Linked DNA regions of Homo sapiens: all the other regions are linked to region 1. Evidence: promoter capture Hi-C in 16 types of primary human blood cells and fetal thymus (Javierre and others, 2016). All regions are on one chromosome and are shown on one strand. Each heading gives the region's core, a stretch centred on a gene start or on the middle of the fragment in contact. The rest is flanking DNA. Distances are from core to core; before and after follow the strand shown.

What was found. The method cuts DNA at HindIII sites, captures the fragments that hold promoters and counts their contacts. A CHiCAGO score of 5 or more calls a contact.
Region 2: a contact is called between a fragment that was not itself captured here and the fragment with the promoter of IGSF8 in region 1, in 1 of 17 cell types (M1 macrophages). The highest score is 6.2, in M1 macrophages.
Region 3: the fragment with the promoter of USF1 here is called in contact with the fragment with the promoter of IGSF8 in region 1 in 2 of 17 cell types (fetal thymus and naive CD4 T cells); the score reaches 7.2 in fetal thymus.

What each region holds. Positions count from the first base shown.
Region 1 is chr1:160,095,840-160,100,290 of GRCh38, reverse strand. IGSF8 (immunoglobulin superfamily member 8) reads left to right here and starts at 1,672. Exons shown (of 7, transcript NM_052868.6): 1 at 1,672-1,882. The coding sequence starts at 1,819. RefSeq lists a silencer at 1,088-1,917 and enhancers at 2,484-3,010, 3,011-3,539, 3,540-4,066. The HindIII fragment of the contact is 5,064 bases long and covers 1-4,451 here.
Region 2 is chr1:160,619,044-160,623,066 of GRCh38, reverse strand. SLAMF1 (signaling lymphocytic activation molecule family member 1) reads left to right here. Exons shown (of 7, transcript NM_003037.5): 5 at 3,218-3,291. Among named protein-coding and RNA genes, the nearest start is that of SLAMF1, 26 kb to the left of the region's middle. The HindIII fragment of the contact is 1,693 bases long and covers 849-2,541 here.
Region 3 is chr1:161,043,435-161,048,056 of GRCh38, reverse strand. It overlaps USF1 (upstream transcription factor 1), which reads left to right and starts at 2,080. Exons shown (of 11, transcript NM_007122.5): 1 at 2,080-2,199. ARHGAP30 (Rho GTPase activating protein 30) reads left to right here. Exons shown (of 12, transcript NM_001025598.2): 12 at 1-1,111. The coding sequence ends at 342. RefSeq lists enhancers at 1,230-2,110, 1,721-2,200, 1,313-2,512, 2,111-2,991, 3,051-3,280. The HindIII fragment of the contact is 1,293 bases long and covers 1,651-2,943 here.

The DNA.
Region 1 (4,451 bases), core at 423-2,922:
AGTGCTGGCAGTCCTGGGAAGTGAGGGCTGGACCTCTGATCTCCCTTCAAGGCCTCAGTTTCTCTGGTTTCTCCAGGGTTCCTCAATGTGGCTTCTACTGGCAACCCCGTGAGCATCTTCTCAGAGTCAGGCACTGTGCCACGCTTGAGGAATACCATGTCAAGGAAGGTCTGGTCTGGCCTGTGCCACTTACCCTCTCTGGGCCTCAGTTTCCTCTTCTGTAAAGGGGGGTGAGTGAGTGGGAGGGAAGGGGGATGAGAGGGGAGAGGGAGGATGTTGGAGGGTAGAGGGTGGTAAATGGGCTCTGGGGTCACCTCCCACTGACAGCCACTCTGACAGCCTTGGCTTTGCAAACCTGGCCATCTCTTCTCCCCATTCTGGTCTCATCCTTCCTGCCCCTGCCCACTTCCCATCTTTACAGTTCAGGAAGAGACAGAGCACCTGGGAAGGGTGCCTCCTCCATTCTCCCACCTCCAGGGCAAGCCCCACTCTTCCTAGAACAGAGCAATGTTCATCTCTTCCCACTGTCACTGAACATAGAGACTCCTTCACCTAAATGCCAGGTCTAAACTAAGCCTCTTAGGAAGCAGTTCAAATAATAATTCAAAACCTAAAACAAAATAATCCTTATCTCCCATTTTGTGTTAGTTTCCTGTGCCAAACACTTTATGTACATTACCTATCATCACAATAACCCTTTGGGTGATGTGATCAACCTCAATTCAATTTGCAGAGGAGAAAACTGAAGTTGAAGGAGGTTAAACAACTGGGCTAGGATCACCCAACCCAGAAATGACGTCACATGGACGGCCCCCTCTCCTAATCCATTTTTCTTTTGGTTTTGCCCTCTGAGGGGGTGAAAAACAGGTCTCCAGTGACCTTCTGGATCCTGGAAGCGCCCTTCAGCTCAAACCCTTCGCATTCAGGAACTCCTGGCTTCCGCCAACCCCTACTTCAGCAGGGTTTGCAGCGAGGACTATGGCTCAGAGCAAATAACTGAATTCTAAATGCGTGGTCACAGTCACCTCGCCAATCCCAGGGACCCTGCACCCAACTCTCCAGGAAAGGCTGGCAGGTGCGGGGTGGAATGCGCTCTGTGCGAGGGTGGGTGGGAATTTCGATGCGCAGAGGTGCAGTTAGCTCACTCCTGCGGGGGCCTCGGGCGGAGCCAGGGCCAGGGGCGGGGCGAGGCCGGGGTCCAGGGCGGAGCCAGGATTGGAGGCTGACGTTAGCCCTGCGGGGACGGGGAAGGGGTGCGGCTTGGGACTGGGGCGGGGCCGGGGCCCGGGGAGGAGCCAGGATTGGAGTCCGACTGTAGTCCTGGTGGGGCGGGGCGGGGGAGGGGCCGGAACTGGGGCTGGGCCGAGGCCCGGGGCGGATCCAGGGCTGGAGTCTTGGCGGGGCGGGGCGGGGAGGGGCGGGGCCGGGGCGGGGCTGGGACTCGATGCGACTCAAAGGTGAGTTTCGAGGGGCGGGGCGGGGCCGGGGCCAGGTGCGGAGCAAAGGCCGGAGTCTGGCGGGGGTGGGGCAGGCAGGGCCAAGGCTGGGTCCGGGGCGGGGCGGGCCTAGACGGGGCGGTGGAAGGGGCGGTGCCGGGGCGGGCCGGGGCGAGAATGGTTTCAGAACTGCCGAGGGCTGGAGGGAAAGCAGCGGGAGGGGCGGAGGGAGGGGATTCGGCAGCTCCAGTTCAGCTCGCTCGGCGCACCCACGCCTCGCTGCCCCGCTTCCTGCCCTCAACCTGGGCATGCGCCCCCCACCCTTCCGGCCCCCCAGAACCCGCGCCATCCCCCGGAGCCTCCCCAGAGCTGGCCGCGCAGGATGGGCGCCCTCAGGCCCACGCTGCTGCCGCCTTCGCTGCCGCTGCTGCTGCTGCTAATGCTAGGTAAGCCAGGCCCCCGTTCCGGTTCCCGGCCCTGCCGGGCAGGTGCCTGCCATCCAGCACCCCCCTAGCATTTCGGGGCTCCTCACATCCTCCTCCGTCAGGGGTACCTCCAGCCTCCCCGGGGTCGGCGTCCAGCTGCGCTTTGTGGCTGTCCGCCGAGCCAGTCTTGGGAAGAGTGCAGGCTCCCCAGCTCTAAGCCAGGGACTGGGGCGTAGAGAGGACCCACTAAGGTGCTGCCCCAGGCACTGCTCGGCCTCCCGGGGCAGGCCACACATCTCAGCTAGCATACCCACGTACTGGGGTCGCTGCACCAAATGCTGCGACTCCTTTCTGCCCCACACTCAGCTCCAGGCCTGGCCTTGGGTGCCCGCCCTACGAGGGCAGTGCCTGCCCAGCTTCATAATTGCCCCAGAGTTGGCTGGAGGCCCAGAGGCCAGTTCTGCCCACGATCTTTGAAGTAAGTCTCTCCCAGTTGCGCTCCACGCACTTCATCAACTGGGGGCAGTTCCCTCTCTCACCCCCATCTCCACCCTGGGTTGGGTCCCTCTTTGCCCTTCTTCCTGTCTCCCAAATGGCACTTGGCTCTGCAGCCACCCATCAGTTTTCACACCGCTTAGTTCCAGCTTCCTTGCCTCAGGAGAAACCAGGTTCCATGGAGACTGATCCTGGGATCTCCAAGCACCTTGTGCCTGCTGTGGTGGGTGTTCATGGTGGGGTGTTCTGGGCCAATCTTGCATGGATGCATGGGGATAATGACAGTGGAATTGTTTTTGGCCTGAACTGGAGGGCTCCCTGTAGGAGGTGGTCTGGGGAAGAGTATGGCATGGAGACAGTGAAACTGCCAGTACAGATGTTGATGAGGCTGAAGCCCTTGAAATGAGAGTGAAGCGTGGGGGTGGGGATGGTGACTTCAGAGCTGCTGTCGTCAAGGCAGAGGCTGAAGGTAGCCCCAGCTGCCTGTTTCTAGACCAGAGCTCCACAGTGGCACCAAGCAAAGCCTTCCCCTGCTGCAGGTCCCTGGGCCCTGCAGGGTTAGGATGAGTCCTCTCCCTGGTCCCTGGGCAGGTGGCAGGAGGATGTACAGAGAGGAAGGCGCTGTGGGGCCTGGGTTGCCTAGCACTTGGTGTGTTTTCCCCAGTGGGCAGCATGGAGCAGGGAGGAGCCCAGGGAGGTGGGGAAGTGCTGGCCTGTGTTTGAAAAAGGAGCACGCAGAGGTCTGAGCACCCACTGCCTGTGGGCACTTACATTCATTTCACAAATGAGGAAAATGAAGTAACTTGCCCCAGAGAGCACATTTAGTGAGTGTTGGGGCTAGGATTTGAACACAGATCTGATTCCAAAGCAGGCCTCTTTGCTGTCCCTTTCCTTGCTGCGACTGATACAGAGGAGGGGAGAGAGAGCTGTGTGGCAACTGATTTCCTAAGGCTGTGGAGGTGACTTTCCCATGGGCATCTCCAAGCATCAGCAGTTGTGGAGCCAGGAAAATGGGAGGGGGCCTTCTGAGCAGTCTGCCCTGAGGCAGTCAGGGAAGGTGTCAGCTTGGCTGTCTCCACCGTCACTCTGATTATGAAACTTGCCTGGCCTGGGGCAGGGCTCTCCTGAGTCACATACGCACTCACACATGGTCAGAGCTGGAGCTCTTAGTTCTCCTCCAGTGTGGAAACTGAGGCCTAGGACAGAAAGAGACTGGATCCCAGGCCACACAGCTGGGCATGGGGATGGTGCTGGAATCCCACTTCCTGACTGGCAGCTGTGCCCTTAACAACAGACCATGAGTTCTCCCTGTGACCCAGCCAGAGGATGAAGGAAGGGGCTAGGAGCCCAGAAGCAGGGGTGGGGAAGTTCAGAGGAGCCGTTCTAGAGAAGCTGGAGGGTAGAGTTTGACCACAGACTCCTGGGCATTTTCCTCTAGCTCCTGCAGAAAGTCCATGGTATCCCCCTGGGAGGCCTAAAAGTGACACTCTGGTTGGTGAGGTCAGTCCCTTCAGGCCTGGCCTTGGAGTTTCCCCATCTTCCTCTCTGGTTTTGCCCCTCTGGAGGAGTGTGTGGAAGCCATCTAGGGACAGCATGATCTTGGCTAACATATTATACTTTTCCTGCCTTACCTTTCTCATCTGTAAAATTGGGAGAGGTGGGGAGGGGTGGCCTAGCCCTCTTTACATTGAGGTTCTGTGATCTTATCTAGTGGGAGCTATGGAAGGAAAGAAGGGAGGAGCTAAGCCCTCTAAGTCTGCCAGGAGTATCTGCTGGGGTAGGGTTGGGCATAGGGGTGGAGTAGGGTGAAGAAGAGAGGTTTGGCCTTTCTGAAGGGAGAGAGATGAGAAGGGGCAGCTGGGGATTTAGTGCCTCCCTACAGAAAGAGAGCCATATATGTAAATGAATGCATACCATGTGCAAATGAAGGCTTTTGTTAAGGAACTGGGGCAGGCACCTTCTGTATCTGCTGGGCTAGCCCGGAAGGTTGGCAGGCACTGGAGGAGGGGATCTTCTGCCCCCAATGGCCAGGGCAGAGCCTGGATCTTGCCCCAGAAGCCCCAGCTGCCTGGGCAGCCCTGTGGGGTGAGAGAAG
Region 2 (4,023 bases), core at 446-2,945, 520 kb before region 1:
CCATCCCACAATTCCCCACTACCTTCCCCAACACACATACCCATCCTCACCTCAACCCCATTCACCATTTGTCCCTTGTAAGTTAGCAACACACAAAACTGCCTCAAACTTGCGGTAAAATTTATATTTAGTTGCTGCACCTTTCATAAAACCTTGCTAAAGAAATTATATTGGCAGCTTCTAATGCTATAATCATCAGAATGCAGCCTGACGCTGAAGGCTTTTCAATTTCATGACTCTTTGGCAATTTCATGTCCAGGAGAATACACTGATAAAGAATGTGGGTATAGGCATTAGACAAACTTACATTCAGATGCAGATTTTGCTACTGACAAGCTGTGTGATCAAATGACTTAACTTCTCGTCTGCAAAACAGGGGTAATACTATGTACTTCATGGTATTGTGGTGGAGATTGGTATCAATACACAGAAAACACTGAACACAGTGGTTCCCATCGATGGGTGATAGATAGATAGATACATAGACAGATAGATACATAGACAGATAGACAGATCTCTTAGTGTAGATGAATTAAAATGGCAATGTGTAAGTGCTATGGCCAGGAGAAGCTGCACTGGAAGCATCTGGAAACAATACCTAGAACAGATTGAAAATATTTTAAGTCATGGTAACATAAGACTTTATGCTTCAGGTAAAAGCTGAAAAGGATATTAGATACTCTATGCCCTCATTTTACAGTTATGGTAAGAGAAAAGACCCATTGAGATGACGTGATTTGTCCAATGCCACACAGCTAATGATGGCTACAATGTAGATGTCCTAATTTTAAGGCCAAGACTTTTTCCTTAGAGCCTAAGACCTTGCTGACTTGGAGCCGAGTTAAGCTTACTCCTAAAAACCTGTTCTTGCACTGGGGAAAATAACCTGAGACTAAATTATCTTGGTCCAATGGTCCTTTTAAGCAGCAACAATCAACCTCACCTCTTCCATCTGTCTGACCATTTAGGACTGTCCTTCCAGTTCTACATTTGACTCTGAGCTGACCTGCAAGACTGAAAGTCTTTGAGGACTGTAGTCTGTTCTCTACTCTATTTGTAGCCACTACAGCACCTAGGAGAGTGCTGGGCAGGCATGTCTTACTTTGCAAACACTCGTGGGGACTAACTTGAACCTCCTCTGCTACCTCCAACTGCTTCTTGAGTCCTCCCCTCCATTTTACACACACACACACACACACACACACACACACGCACTCACGCACACTCCTCAGTCAGGATCAACTCTGACCAAAAAAGCGAAGTTGAAACCACTAGGCACACCGTGCTCATACCCACACACAAAAAATCCCATGTTGACTTTCCTTGAATTCCTGGAACTTCATCAGTGTCTGCCCCACATTTCCTCCCCAAGACTCACACCCTCACGCAGCACATTCCACCATGCTCACCACATACACACTGGGCCTTTCCCTTCCAAAGAAAAATGTGCCTCTCCTAAAAATGCTATTTCCTCAGAGATGTGCCTTTTTTTTTTTTTTTTTTTTTTTGAGATAGATTCTTGCTCTGTCACTCAGGCTGGAGTGCAATGGCATGATCTCGGCTCACTGCAACCTCTGTCTCCTGGGCTCAAGCAGTTCTTCTGTCTCAGCCTCCTGAGTAGCTGAAATTATAAGCGCGTGCCACCATGCCTGGCTAATTTTTGTATTTTTAGTAGAGACAGGGTTTCCCCATGTTGGCCAGGCTGGTCTCAAACTCCTGACCTCGTGATCTGCCCACCTCAGCCTCCCATAGTGCTGTGATTATAGGCGTGAGCCACTGCACCCAGCCCAGTTTTTTAAGAGAATAAATTAACTGGTGTTAAAATAAGTCTACCTTAAAGGCTGTGATTTTCTGGGTCCAGCCTCCATTGCCTCTGCCTGGACTTTGCAATAATCCCATAATAAACCTCCATCCTTCAGTCTGCCACTTTCCCACCATCCTTACTGCTGCATGATGTATACAAAGGATACTGTGCAACTTTAGAAAGAATGAGATAGGTCTACTGTGCTAACATGAAAAATGTCCTCAATACATTTTAAGTGAAAAGATCAAGTTACAGAGAAGTGTGTGCAGAATGACACCTCTTGTGTGGAAAAAAGTCTATATAAGTATAGCAAATATCCAAAACTGCATTGTCTAATATGGTAGTCACTAGCCACATGTGGCTTTTTAAATTTAAATTAATTTGAATTAAATAAAATTTAAAATTCAGTGACATTAGTCACAGTTCAGGTGCTCCATAGCCCCGTGTCTGTAAGCTGTATTAGACACTGCAGATATGGAACATTTCCATCATCTCAGAAAGTTCTGTTGCACAGAGCTGATCTACAGGGATATACATCAAACTTTTAAAAATGGTTTCTTCTTTTTTTTCCCACTTCTTTTCACAGGTATTGAAAAATACGGTTTCTTTTGGGAATGAAATTGGGTTGGTTAATGGAAGAAGGGGATTTATACTTTTTACTTTATACTTTATATATTTCTTCACAATTTTTATTTTATGATGAGAATAAATTACTCCTATAATTTAAAAAGAAAGCTTTTTAAAATTGGCTAAAAATTAAAATATTCTGCAACTTATTAATTTCCAGAGACCCTAGGCCCTGAGCAAAATTTCCAGATGGTGGGCAACAGAATGACATTGTTGCTTTATTTTCTAAATAGTCCCAGGTGGAACATCCCTCTTACACGTCCCCCCGCCCTTACCTCCCACACATCAATTCCCCCAGAAATAGGGAGGTGAGAAAGCTGTGAGTGAAGCAACATACTACCAGCTGGAAAATACAAAAGAGGTATAAACAACTAGCCCTGCCCTCAAAGAACTTAGAATCCTATTAGGAGACCAGATATGCACATTGAGCAACAGAGATTAAAGTAATTGAATGGTACACCAATGAGAAAAACACCTAATGCGTATTGGGCATTTGTTATGCACCAGGCAGTGTTCTAAACACTTTACAAGTGGTATCTCATTTAATTATCACAACAGCCCCGTGAGGCAGGTATTTCAAATCCCATTTCACAGATAGGCCTAGAGTGATCAAGTAACTAACCTAAGACAATATGACAAATGTGCAGGGGGGCTGGGACTCAGGGCTTTGTTTCCATTGTGCCCTTGGGGAAAGTGGGTATGCAAAGGACAGTAAAGACCAGGTCTGAGTAAGGAGCTCCTGCTGGGGACCAGAGGGAGATAACCATTATGGTTTCTTTTCACCAGGTAAAACGAACCATTACCAGACAACAGTGGAAAAAAAAAGCCTTACGATCTATGCCCAAGTCCAGAAACCAGGTGTAAGTTCTATATTTTGTTTGAGATGAACCTGTCATGTTTCCTAGAGTATTCCTGGCCAGTCTACCTTGCCTGTTGGACATTCACAGTTTTCCATCCAGAGCAGAGGAAGGTAGGGAACAGGAGTCAAGAACAAGAGTTCTCCTAAAGTCACTAAACGTCAGTGTTTGAAATAATGGGCAACACTGGATAATTTTCTGGTCATGAGTCTTCACAGGAAAAAAATGAAGAAGCTGGAAATACATACTGTATGACTCTTTCCAGCTCTGGCATTGTAGGAGTCTAGGTTCCATGTTAGTCAATTATTTCCTTTTCTAGGGAAAAGAGTGCAGGCTTGAGGAGAGAGGAGGTTTGGAAAAGCTATTGTGTGACATGTTGGACTGATCCAAGTTTAGGATTTACTAAGTGCAAAAGTGACAAGGAAGGTAGGATCTTCAAAATTCTAGCTAGAGTGTGGTTAAAGAGATGAAAGATGAGATGGAAGAAAGAAAACTGTGACAGAGTGATCACTGGACTAAGAAGTGAAGGATGGAAAAACTGGATGCATGGTGAAGTTGAGAAGCAGATATGCTTGAAGGAAGGGATAGAGACGCTAAAAGGATCGTGGTTAGATGTAGAGACACTGTAGTTTTTCAACATGAAGGCAATTCTTGGTATTGTATAGGCCAGAATCTGGACATTTGGGGTGTAGGTAGAGGCAAATTCTTGAGTAAAGGATGTGAAGGTAAAGATGG
Region 3 (4,622 bases), core at 831-3,330, 950 kb before region 1:
TGGAGGAATGGGGGTAGTCTTTCCTTTGATGCTGCTGTGGCCCTAGCCCGGGACCGCCAAAGGACTGAGGCTCAAGGAGTTCGGCGAACCCAGACCTGTACTGAGGGTGGGGATTACTGCCTCATCCCCAGAACCTCCCCTTGTAGCATGATCTCTGCCCATTCTCCTCGGCCCCTTAGCTGCCTGGAGCTCCCATCTGAAGGTGCAGAAGGGTCTGGATCCCGGAGTCGTCTTAGTCTGCCCCCCAGAGAACCCCAGGTTCCTGACCCCCTGTTGTCCTCTCAGCGCAGGTCATATGCATTTGAAACACAGGCTAACCCTGGGAAAGGTGAAGGACTGTGATTAGGACCACAGCCCTGGGCAAAGGGGACCAGCAAGTTGTCTTGAATCTCCAGGGTTCCTGACTAGCTGTCTCCTCTGCAGCATGAGCAGCTGTAGTGCCCAACTCTATAGGCTTTGGCCCTCCAGCTTCTCTCTTTGACTGTGGGAGGCACTGCCTTGGTTGGTTTACCTGAACTTGTCTCCGACACAAAGCACTTATCTCTTAGGAGATTCCCAAGAAAGTCAACAAGATCTTGTTCCCAGGGAGTGGGTCATTGGCCAAAGGGAACATAAGGTAGGCAGAAAACTTAAAAGAGTTTGTTAAAGTGAAGACTGGAGAAATTCCTCCCTTCCTCTGAGCTGTGAATCTCTCTTCATGAAAGCCAAAGGTAGAGACAGGGAGGACAGGGCCAGGTTAGGGCCTTCCACACACAAACACTTCTAGAGTTGCCCATTCCTGTTATGTTCTTGGACCCTAAGATACCTCCTGTCCCTTTTAAATCCAGATTAAGAGAAACGTCCAGGAAGAGCTCTTTGAAGCCCTCAATATTTGTTGGAGGGACTGGACTCCTCTCCAGCTCCCCACCCTCTGCCTCCAGTCACCATGTGCAAGAGAGGTCCTGTACAGATCTCTCTGGGCTCTCCTTTCTCCTTTGGAATAACTTGTTCCTATTTCAGGAAAGGGAAATGGTGTCACTCAGGCCCTGGGACTGCTTCTCCAGCCAGGCTGGGGCCACAGGTCCCACTCTAGTGAAGGTCAATGTCTCAGAATAAAAGCTGTATTTTTACACATAGTGTGGAGTCTCATTATTCTTATTAAAGTCTTTGGTGATAGGTATTATATCTTCACATATTTGGCAAAACATTCTTTTTCTTCTTCTTGTTTGGGTGCTCTTCCTCAGTTGTTGTCATGGAGACTAGTGGCCAGAAACTAGAGCTAGGTTCATGGTGGTCAGGAAATAAGGAAGAGAAACTTATATTTACATAATGCGTTCATTATGTGCCAGGAACTGGACTAAGTATCCTGTGCTCACAAAATCTATGTCCTTGATTTTATTTAATCCACACAATTCTGGAAGGTTGGTGCTAGTATCTCCAGTTTATAGATGAGGAAACTAAGGCTCAATTAAGTCAAAATGTTTGCCAAAGGTCTCAGAGGTAAGAAGTGGCAGAGATGGGTTTGAAACCTGGATCTGCCTGGCCCCCAAGCTTGAATTTTTCCCATTATACCACACTACTCCAAATCCATTCAGGGTAGGTCTTGATTGAGAAGAATGGGAATCAAGATTCCTGTCACAGAAGGTGTGAGCCTTTAGAACACTAGAAGCTTTGGGGTCTTTGGATGAGTGACTGCTGACGCGAATAACAAGGAACATATCCAATTCTATGCATGCCCCGATAGGTCGTAATCTCTAGCAGGTAACCTTTCAAAAAGACGCCCTGCGCCAAGATGGCCTCCCAAATAGCCCTTGTTAAAGATGGCGCCTCCGTCGGACGTCCCTCCCTTGATCTCAGCTGGATTCTCTTCTTTCCTGGAATGAAAAAATGCCCTGCCAAGCACTAAGATATTAGTACAAGTTAGTCGTCTCTTTCCCGTTCTTGTCGAAAGTGGCCAGGCCTTCAGCTACATTCTCCAGGACACGGCTTCTTTCCGGCTTCACAAATAACCCACAAACACCAACTCTCATCAAGATGGAGTGAGCGGAAGTGGGGCAGTTCTGAGTTTGAGTTTATGGGCGGGGCGAGAGCGACACTTCCGCCCCTCACCAACATGGCCGCGGGCTGGAAGTGCGCATGAGCAGCTGTCTATGGAGATACCTAGGCCGGGAGAGGGAGAACACAGTTGGAGAAAATCGGCAGCTGAGACGGCCTTGGCCGGTGAGTGTAGGACCGGGCAGAAGTCTGGAAACTGGGTGGACTGGCAAGGCAGGGCAGCTTTGATTTTGTTTCCGTTTTTCAAGTTAGAGAACACTGCTGGGGAGGAAGCCTTTGTTTTGGGGGAGGGGGCTGTGCTGGTTCTTTATCTCATACCCTGCTTTGTGGGCCAAACTCTCTCCCTTCCCCAGAGCGCGAGCGTCCCAGCCCTCCTGCGCTGTCCAGCTGCGCGCCGCAGCCGCCGGCACCGGGCGCTTGAGCTCCCTAGTCCCCGAGGCCCTTTCCTGCCTCCTCCGCGGAGCAGCTGGGGCGCGGGGCTAAGACTGCGGGGCTGCGGGGTCACGGCGCAGGCTCCCGGGCTCGCGCCTGGCGGGCGCTCAGCTCCGTAAGCGCCTTCTGGTTGGTGAGCCTGCAGGGAGACGCCTCATTCTAAGGCAAGGTCTAGGTGCCTGACTTCTTTCGGGAGTTGATTTTTTTTCCCTTTGTGTCCAGACTTAGCAAGGGCTCTTACTGGGCCCTTCTGGCCTGAGCGTGCACACCACAACGTCCCATCCCTGTTTCCGTGTCACCGATCCCTAATGCCTAGGAAATGCTTCCGGATGTCCAACTAAGATTTGAATAAGTACCCTGACCCCGTTGCTGGGTGTCCTCAGAGACTGCCCCGGCTGACAGCTGTGGCCAATAGAGATGCCTCCTGTGCCGGGCCCTCTATTTCATTGCCTTCCCCTGCAGTCAGCGCGGCAAGCTTCGCAGGGCATTTCCTCTTCAGGTTTGAAGATGGAAATGTAGGTGGTCCCAAAACACTAGTGCTACTTCCCCTTATCGACTGGGATCTCCTTGCAGCGTTACTTCGTCTGTACGGTTTCACTTTCAGTTCCTTTTTCAACATTTTCCTCGGACGCGGTCTTTCCGAGGCTTATCCATTGAAAATTTTCCTTGGATAGGAAAGGTTTGGAGGACCTTATGGGTAGAGAATTTCCAAAAATCTTGCCCCTTTTGTGTTGGGATTATCTTATTGCTTTGTACTGTGTAGCTGTTTCTTTCTGGAGGCATGTCTGCCCAGCTCTTTGTTTTTCCTGCCCTCTGGCTGGGTGTCAGGGTCCTAAGGCAGAGCTTGTAGGTGGATTCTTCCCCCTTTGTCTCTTCTTCAGAACCCTGTTTTTTTTTTTTTTACCCCTTCTTGCTCAGGCTTAGTTGATTTGGAGTTGTCATAGCAACATTTTAGCAACAGTGTTGTTCTGCAGGAAGGCTTGATGAATAAAATAGAGAATGCTTGAAGAGGATCCACTTGGGCTTTAGGGTTTCTAACAGATTATATAAATCTGGATACCCCAAAACAAGAGTCCTGTCAGTAGAATGGGGCCCAAATGCCAAGTCTAGTCTTTGTGGTCAGGGATATTCTTCCAGTGGTAGTGGGCTTCAGATTTCCTCTTCCTAGGTTTGAAAACAGAAATGTCTTGATGGACAACATGTGGCTGAGAAACTGGAAGAAGCATCAGTGTCCATGACACTGTATTTTTTGATGGTGGGGCCAATACATGGCCCTTCCTGATTCCCATGAAGCTGCCATCATGGCAGGTCATAATAGCTTTAATGATCCATTTAGAGATGTGTTGTTGGCTGGGTGCGGTGGCTCATGCCTGTAATCCAAGCACTTTGGGAGGCCGAGGCAGGCGGATCACCTGAGGTCAGGAGTTCCAGACCAGCCTGGCCAATATGGTAAAACCCCATCTCTACTGAAAATACAAAAATTAGCTGGGCGTGGTGGTGGGCACCTATAATCCCAGCTATTCAGGAGGCTGAGGCAGGAGAATCACTTGAACCCAGGAGATGGAGGTTGTAAGCCGAGATTGTGCCACTGCACTCCAGCCTGGGTGACAGAGCAAGATTCTGTCTCAGAAAAAAAAAAAAAAAAAAGAAAGAAATGTGTTGTTTCGGCCAGGTGCAGTGGCTCACACCTGTAATCCCAGCACTTTGGGAGGCTGCCGAGGTGGACAGATCATGCTCTCAGGAGTTCGAGACCAGCCGGGCCAACATGGTGAAACCCCGTCTCTACTAAAAATACAAAAATTAGCCAGGCGTGGTGGTGTGCACCTGTAATCCCAGCTACTCCGGAGGCTGAGGCAGGAGAATCACTTGAACCTGGGAGGCAGAGGTTGCAGTGAGCTGAGATCGCGCCACTGCACTCCAGCCTGGGTGACAGAGAGAGACTCTGTCTCAAAAAAAAAAAAAAAAAAAAAGTGTTGTTTCTGTCTTCCAGTATAATTATCCACTCTCCACCAGGAGTTGGAGTGATAATGGAGGGATGGGGAACACTATTTGTAGCCTTGCTTTTTCAATCACTGTAGGCCAGTCCTCAACATCAGTATGGTGGAGGCTGATTGTCCCCTGCAGATGACTGGGTTATTTTCCTGGCTATGTGTTCA